Linked DNA regions of Homo sapiens: all the other regions are linked to region 1. The links are contacts of gene promoters, found by promoter capture Hi-C in blood cells and fetal thymus (Javierre and others, 2016). All regions are on one chromosome and are shown on one strand. Each heading gives the region's core, a stretch centred on a gene start or on the middle of the fragment in contact. The rest is flanking DNA. Distances are from core to core; before and after follow the strand shown. Region 1 holds the start of EGR3 (early growth response 3). Region 2 overlaps PEBP4 (phosphatidylethanolamine binding protein 4). Region 3 overlaps PEBP4 (phosphatidylethanolamine binding protein 4).

Region 1 (2,692 bases), core at 132-2,631:
TCAACACTCCCACTCCCCCCGAGAAATGCACGTTCCCCCAACCCCGACTCCCCAGGAGGGGACGAGGGATTCACCGCGCCCACGCGGCCACCGAGGAGGGAATCCTCCCCCGCCAAGCCGATGTGATTTGGGGTCGCACCCCCATGCTCCCGCCCTCTCCTCCCCCTCGCCCGCGGGCCGGCTGCGCGCGCCTCGGGAGCAGGCCCCAGGGAGCACAGCAGCCGCCCCCGGGATCTGCTGCCGCTCCGGGAGGTGAAAGCGCTCCGGGTCGGCACACAGGCCGCCCTTGACTGCGGAGCGCCGGCAGGCAGCAATGGGGACAGCCCTGTGGAAGGCGAGGGGGAGGGCAGAGACTAGGGGAGGCCCCCAGTGGCTCAGAGACTGTGGGTTCGGCGTCCTCCTTCTGGAACTCTGGCGGGCCCTTCGCAGGCAGCAGTAGACAGCGACTGCGCCCGGGCCTGCTGGGCCCTCCTGCCATCCTGTGGCCACAGAGGCTGCTTGGAACCGTTAGGGAATTTACTGGGGATTCAGTGCACGTGTTTATCTATCCCTTCAACTTCATTCTTTCCTCTTCACCACGAAAACCGCACATCCTCGACCCCATATGGATGGGGCTCTTGTCTTTGGCGCAACTGCTGGGGTGCTCCGAATCTCCTCGCCACTGCGCTCAGCCTAGAGTCAGCGCCGGGTCAGGGGCCCAGGGAGGGGCAGGGGCGGCGAATCAGAGTGAAGTTGGCACAAAAGTTCTTGGGATATTGGACCAAGGAATTCTGACAAGTTGAAACACCCCCCCAACCCTGCGCGCACCCCTCCTTCCCCCCACAAAGGGAAGCACTCCCTTTCTCTTAATCTCGGATAGGATCCCGAACGCTGGAGCCGCTGAGGTAGCAGGGGCGCAACGCACGCCTTCCGGGTTCCCCAGCAGTTCCCGGGCTGCAAAGGGATTTCGCCAGATGTTTTCAACTCTCTTTCTAACTGCTGGGGTGTTGGAGACCACTTGCAAACAACCCCACCCCACCGCCCACCTCTCCCCAATGCGCTCTCCTAACGCAAACCTCAAATAAACACACACAATGAGTTACTGGTGTTTCGACTCCACGCTACGCGCTTTGCGCTTTGCATGCAGCTGTATCCTTCTTTCCTCTCTCTTCTCGCATTCTTCTTGTTTCTTCTCCCCTTCTCTTTTTTTCAAGAGCCGCGAGCGGTGCGGGCGCCGCACGTTGGCTGCGGCCCGCTTCCTGCTTTCTAATGTTCCATTGTGAGGAGCTTCCATTGTGACGTCGCGCCCCTTCGGCTGGGCTTTGTCTGTCCATATATGGGCAGCTACGTCACGGAGCTTTCCCGGGGCTCAGATAAATAGGCTGGTGGAGTTCCCTGGCTGGGAGCTTTTGGGCAGCAGTGAGCTTGCTAGGAAGCGGCGGGGCTGGTGGTGGTGGTAGCAGCGGCGGCAGCGGCGGCAGAGGCGGCGGCGGCGGCGGCGGCGGCGGCGGCGGTGGCGGTGGCGGTGGCGGTGGCAGATCGGGGGGCGGGGGGGCGGCGGGCGCGTGTCTGTTTGTGAGATCAATACTGAGGCCGCGTCCGACCCCCTTGAGCCGAGATCCCCCCCCAGCCCAGCCCCCACCCCACCCCCCGCACACGCCCCACCCCCCCCACGACCCAGCCTCATACCGCACCAGCTGAGGCACCCAAGAGGATTACCCCCTGGGGCCCTCTCCCGCCCCCCAAAAAAGAGAAGATCCCCTCTCCTGGCCCATCCCTTCCCTTCTTCCCTCCCCCCTCCCCCCGAACTTTCCCTCTCGCATGCTTTTCCCCTGCACCACGGATCGCCTCTCGGATGCCGCTTGCCTGGAAGCTGCGTTAGGAGCGAGCGGCGGCGGTGGCGGCGGTGGCGGCGGCGGCGGCAGCTCGGGAGTGCTATGACCGGCAAACTCGCCGAGAAGCTGCCGGTGACCATGAGCAGTTTGCTAAACCAACTGCCTGACAATCTGTACCCCGAGGAGATCCCCAGCGCGCTCAACCTCTTCTCCGGCAGCAGCGACTCGGTAGTCCATTACAATCAGATGGCTACAGGTAAGGGCGGCGGGGAGGCGGCGAGGCAGCGAGGAAGGAAGGGGAGAGGAAGAGGAGGAGGGGACGACCTGGTGATGGATGGATGGATGGATGGATGGATGGATGGATGGATGGGTGGATGGGTGGATAGATAAATGGATGGAGAGATGGGGGCGCGCTGGGAATTTTGCGGGGGGCGAGTTGCTTTTCCCACCCACTCCTCCCGCCCTCCTCGATCGAGAAGGCTAGGTTGGCGACGCCACGGTAGAGGCTTCGGTTCTCCCGGGTGGGGGCAGCCGCCGACCGGAGGGAGGTAGGTGCGAGCGGCTCTGGGGTTCTCCCTCACCACGCAGGGGGCCCGATCGCCGGGCTACGCGCAAGGCGTGGTGCTGTCGCCCTCTTCCCGGGAGGAGCCCGGCGTCTTTTTCACCCGCGCTCTCCCCCCTTACTCCCTCAGCCTCCCACCCGGGATGGAGCCATGTGCGGCGTGGAGTCCCCGCGGTGGGAGAGGTACTGCGACGCTGCCTTTCCGGGGCGTTCAGCAAAGCCGTGGGGGTGTGGGGACGGCGGGGAGAAGGAGGGGGTTCACCCGCGGGGCGAGGGCCTGCCACGGGGAACGATCCCGGGGCCGGGGAGCTGGGGA
Region 2 (2,692 bases), core at 61-2,560, 220 kb before region 1:
ATTTGTCAACCCCAGTGGAAATAGGGTTTTCCATCCATTAAAAGTCACAGGATTGGTCTCGCTTTGGTCTTGTGCCTATCCCTGAACCTAGCAGTGACCCTCTACAGCTCCCCTTAATCTACAAGGACTGAGAGTAGAGGAGGATGGTTGCCCTGAATGCAAGTCAAGGTGTGATTGATCAGATAAGGGTGAAAGGATGTTAGGTAGGAAATGCAAGGCAGGTCCTATGGAAGTGAGTAATCTGGCCAAGTACAGAGCTGAAAGGTGCCAGAGCCAGAGTCAAAGCCAGGTCTGCCCAACTCCAGAGCCCATGGGCCTGGCCAGTGGGCCACTGGCAAGGGCTCTAAGGGAGACACCAGGGGGCGCTGGCACAGGCAGGGGTGGGCTGGCCGAAGGGAAGCTTTCCCTGGTTAGAATGGAAGGGGGTGGGCAGGAAGGATAGTTCTTCCTAGGGAAGGTGGTAGTTGGAGCTTCCCTTAAGGGAGAGGGCATGACTGGTGAGGCTGGAGGAGCAAGTGCTACCTGGGTCCCTCAAGAAAAGGGTGCGGGGAGCCTGAGTGTTTAGGACAGAGAAGAGCATGAAGGTATTTCTTCTGGGCCTGATGGAGAAGGGCACGAGTTGGTGACTGCTATGTGGGGATGGTGCATTGCTTCCAAGGTGACTGAAGCAATGCCACCAAAGCAGTGACTGCCATTGGACATGCCTGGGAACACCCCCCCCTCCCCCGCCCCCAGCAAACTCCAAAGCCCTGGAAAGAGGGGTGCAGCAGTGCCTCTGTGCCCACCATAGAGCTTCCCACCTCCATATTCTGGCATTGGCCACTTCCCCATCCTTGGCGTCTTTGGACCCTGCTCCCGTCACAATGCTTCCTCCTCTAGGAAGCCTTCCCTGACTGCCTCCCTCTGGGCTCCACCTACATCCCTGGCTGATCTTTTCTTTCTCTGTGCTTTTAAAATGTTCCTACCCTCTAAACTGGGTTTTGACTTCCCTGTGTCTTGTGCTGTAGTTGCTCATTCCTGTCTCTCAAAGCTTCAAGCACTTTGTAAGTTAGGAGAGAAAGACTATGTGTTGTCTTTCTTTGAGTCACCCGTGGGCCCCACCAGCACCTCAGATGCCATGCTGGCTGACTGGGTGACTAGGTGAGAGAGTGAACAGGTGAATGCATGAATGCATGAATGCATGAATGAATGAATGAATGAATGACATGTGGGAGAGCATCTCCTGGAGTGTGAGCTATGAGCTGTGTCAGCCAAACTGTCGGCCCTTTCAGCATCTGTTGAAGGAAAGCTGCTAAACCTAGTGAACCCAGGGCAGCAGGACTCTCTCCTCCCCCTAGGGGTGGGGTGTGAGCTGGGGGGTGGGTGGGGAAGCAGGCAGAGAAAGAGAGGAAGTCAGGCAGGTTCATGAGAAGGCAAAGTAACACAGGAAAACGTGGCTGGCTCCCGTGCCAGCTATGGCTGAGCGAGAGAGGTGTGGAAGTAAGAGGAAGCGTTTCTCCCCTGGCGCTCTGACAAACATGAAGAGGCAAACATTTAAAAATGCATCCCGTTCTCAAGCCAAGGAAAACTGAAAGGCCCCTGAGAAGCTTCTTGACTGGGGGCTTATTCTCCACCTTAAATTTCGCCAGCTGGAATCCTTTTGAAGTGCAGAAATTGCCTTTAAGTGGGGAATGTGCATTGCATTACAGGGAGGGAACAAAAGGCTGCCTCGGTCTGTCCTGCTCTCCCTGGAGTTTCCAATCAGGCTTGGCCCAGGCACTATTTCTTCTCCTCACAAAGCAGGTGGCCCTGAGTGCCCTATCCACCTGGGTCAGTGCATTTCATGCCAGCCCAGGCCTCTAGCCGCAGCCTCCCAGGGAGCACCTTCTCGCCCTCATTGGCCCATGGTGGAGACACAAGTTTCAACCCAAATTTTCTAGAGGCCTGGAACTCTCCTCTCTATAAGAGAGCTCGGAACTCACAGGTCCACCGCCCCTACCAACCCTTCTCTGTATACACAGAGCAGAAAAATACAGGCTGCTGCAGTCACAAAATGATTAGCCGAGGAAGGACACGGGGCTCCCAACACCCACAGCAATTCTAGAAGAACAGACCCTAATGGATGGAGCAGAGACGTCTTCCAGTAGACTACATGTGGAGTCTCCTCTCCTACATGTGGAGGCGGTCAAGTGCAGGCCCACTGGCTCAGGGGACTGCAGCCGCCATGGACTATTTGGTGTTGGGGATGGGCGGTGACTCACTTCGTAAATATTACTGAACACATTGCATCAGGCACCATGTCAGTGCTATTGATTCAGAGACGAAAGACACTATCACGGAGCTTGCAGTATAGCTGGGGAGATAGACAGGTAGCGGGCAAGCATGGGGACACAGGGTGTCAGTGAGCCGGGACCCAGCAAGGGACAGATGGGAGCCAGGATGGTGAGGTGAGGGATGAGGCTTGTGGTTGGGTCGGGGGTCGGGGCGGGTAGGGCAGGGGCACATCCATGGTTAGGAGCCAAGAACTTCATGGCCCTGGTGTGGAGTTTAGAGTTTATCTTAAAGTTTGGCTGGTGGCTGGGGGAGGAGAGTCACCATTTGATTTTTAGGCTGGTAAATGTGATCAGATTTGCAATTTGGGAAGGTCACTCCAGCAGCAGGTGGAAGAATGGAAGAAAGGTAAGATTGAAGGCAAGGTGCCCACCCTGCAACC
Region 3 (2,692 bases), core at 144-2,643, 200 kb before region 1:
AGGGGAGATCAGGGAAGACTCCCCTTAGCCTGAGGATGGCTCTGAGCAAACACGTTGGAGCCTGGATAATACCCCACTGAACACTGCAACTATCGGTTAAAGGAGCCATTGGAGTAAGAATTGATAGGTCAGCGGGAGCAAAACTCAACCATTCCTGATTAATTAGTATTACCGTGGCCTATGTATTTCTCTAGTTCAGATCTTCATCAGATCACACTCCAGCTATGACAGTGATTGTCCAAGCTCCATTCCCTGTCTCTCCTCCCAGACTAGGACATCTTCTTCTTCTGGGTTCCCACATCATTCTAGGTTCCAGTGGCACTTTTCTTACTTGATGCAAGGATGTGGGATTTGGGAACATGGTTTCATCTCTCCAACCACAATACCAGCAACTTTCAGGCAACTGTCTGATGCCACACAGCAAATCTGCCCCAGGGCAGAGGGGGCAGTAGGTAGGCAGTAACTGGGAGCACAGGCAGAGAGGCTGGCATGAAGAAACCTGCCCATGGGAAGCAGGGCCAATGCCACCTAGGCTGGGTTCAAGGATGTGGCCAAAAAAGCAGAACTTCCGACAAACTTGGAAAACTAGTCAGGTTACTGAAACAGGAACTTAAGCTTCTCAGCAAATTAGACGTAACATATAAACTGGAAAAATCAGTGAACTTGAAGATAGAGCAACAGAAATGATCTAAAGAAATATAAAGAGAGAAAAGAAGGCTGGGGGACAGAACAGAGCACCCAAGCATTGTGAGACAACATAAAATGGTCTAACATATGTATAGTTGGGATCTCATTAAGAAAAGAGAGCAGAGTAGAACTATTTGAAGAGATAATGACCAAGAACTTGTTAAAGAAAGGCAACATACCACAAGTCCAAGATACTCAGAGAACCTTAATCAGAATTTTTAAAAAAATCCACCTAGATGTGTCATGATCAAACTGCTAAAAACCAAAGATAAATTCTGAAGACAACCAAGGAAAACAGAATGCCGGTGTCCCCCTCACCAAAGCATGTCTAAATGCTTGTGAAGAAAGTATGTTCTCCTGGGACAGAGTGAAGGAGGGTATGTGGGGAACACATGTGTAAGCCCACCCCAACATTATTATGCCTCTCCAGGTATTAAGATTCCTTGCTTTATATCAAGGAACTTCTGTCACCTTAGCTTTATTTAGTATAGGATGCCATTCAGTTCAGGTTTCATTTCAGATAACCCACTGAGTGAACAGAACCATACCCAGATGATCCAGCCAGTACTTTGGATCCAGAATCCATATTGATCAATATGGCCCAATTGAAAATGATCTTCTTTCCTCCGTGATCAGCACCTTACTATACATTTCTCAGATTTCTGCCAATAAATATTAAAAAACAAATGGCACCTACTTTGGTGTGAAAGTCTACTGTTTCAGAATCAGACTTTGTGCTTGTCTCCCTTGGCCATGCTGAAATCTGATTCTAGAATAGGTCAGGAGCAGCCAGGGGTGGTAAGTGTCGACCTCAGGGAGAATCAGGATTCTCTTGCAAGACAGGACCTGGGGAAAAGGGGCAGCTTCTGCTGGAAAGGGAGGCTCAGCAGGGTCTAAGACTCAGTTATATGAATTCAGCATCCCCATTCACAGGGTTCCATCTTTCCCAGTCAACACCATCTCCCATAAGAGACCTGATGAGGCTGTGAACTTAACTTAGGTTGTAATTCTACAACCTGCTGGGTCAGACTTCACTTCTGATTTCAGTTTTGTTGGCCCTGAAACTACAAACCGTGGGAGATTCTTTCAGGATAGTCTTAACTGTTCCTTGCTCTTCTGATTGAGCCTTGAGCCAAGAATTTATTACTATTTTATTTTATTTTTAGAGACAGGGTCTCACTCTGTTGCCCAAGCTGGAGTGCAGTGGCATGATTACGGTTCACTGCAGCCTTGACCTCCTGGAATCAAGCAATCTTCCCACCTCAGCCTCCTGAGTAGCTGGGACTACAGGCACATGCCACTATGCTTGGAATTTTTTTTATTTATTTTTTATTTTTTGTAGAGACAGGGTCTTACCATGTTGCCTGGGCTGGTCTCGAACTCCTGGGCTGAAGCCATCCATCTGCCTTGGCTTCCCAAAGTGCTGGGATTATAGAGTGAGCCACTATGCATGGCTGTGCCAAGAATTTAAACCTCAAGCTTCTAACCATTTTTCTTTACTTTTCCCACTTCTGGCAGAAGAAGTCATCTTATTCCAACATCTTTATATTCATCATTCTGACATAATAATCTATCGTGCAATTCCGCCAAACTCTTATCTTCAATGGGTACTTTGTTCTAGGTAATCACACTTGATAATCAAGATTATTTTGCTACTATATGCCGCGGGCTGCCAGTGACACATTTGCTAATGGTAACCTGTGCTCTCATCTTCACTGGTTTTAAGCAATTTGATTGTGATGTGTTTGGTGTAGTTTTCTCATGTGTCTTGTGCTTGGCATTTCTTTGGTTGGGCTTCTGGGATCTGTGGGTTTACAGTTTTCATCAAATTAAGACATTTTTCAGCCATTATGTCTTCTAATATTTTTTCTAATATTCCCTAAAAGGGAATTTTAGGGACTCCTATTGCATGTATATTTGGCTACTTGAAGATGTCCCACAGCTCACTGATATGCTATTCTGGTGGGTTTTTTTCAGTCTTTTTTCTCTCTGTGTTTTATTTTGA

Evidence for each region. The method cuts DNA at HindIII sites, captures the fragments that hold promoters and counts their contacts. A CHiCAGO score of 5 or more calls a contact.
Region 2: a fragment that was not itself captured here is called in contact with the fragment with the promoter of EGR3 in region 1 in 4 of 17 cell types (endothelial precursors, fetal thymus, total CD8 T cells and 1 more); the score reaches 6.7 in endothelial precursors.
Region 3: a contact is called between a fragment that was not itself captured here and the fragment with the promoter of EGR3 in region 1, in 1 of 17 cell types (M1 macrophages). The highest score is 5.9, in M1 macrophages.

The regions. Positions count from the first base shown.
Region 1 is chr8:22,692,169-22,694,860 of GRCh38, reverse strand. EGR3 (early growth response 3) reads left to right here and starts at 1,381. Exons shown (of 2, transcript NM_004430.3): 1 at 1,381-2,070. The coding sequence starts at 1,917. LOC105379321 (a long non-coding RNA gene) reads right to left here and starts at 4. Exons shown (of 3, transcript XR_001745832.2): 1 at 1-4. RefSeq lists silencers at 90-309, 1,192-1,355, 1,300-1,419, 2,282-2,351 and enhancers at 420-519, 560-669, 502-1,147. The HindIII fragment of the contact is 8,376 bases long and covers 1-2,692 here.
Region 2 is chr8:22,915,158-22,917,849 of GRCh38, reverse strand. The region is part of intron 3 of PEBP4 (phosphatidylethanolamine binding protein 4); the gene reads left to right. Among named protein-coding and RNA genes, the nearest start is that of PEBP4, 11 kb to the left of the region's middle. The HindIII fragment of the contact is 556 bases long and covers 1,033-1,588 here.
Region 3 is chr8:22,893,742-22,896,433 of GRCh38, reverse strand. The region is part of intron 3 of PEBP4 (phosphatidylethanolamine binding protein 4); the gene reads left to right. It overlaps LOC124901907 (a long non-coding RNA gene), which reads left to right. Exons shown (of 2, transcript XR_007060854.1): 2 at 1-1,383. Among named protein-coding and RNA genes, the nearest start is that of PEBP4-AS1, 17 kb to the right of the region's middle. The HindIII fragment of the contact is 1,551 bases long and covers 618-2,168 here.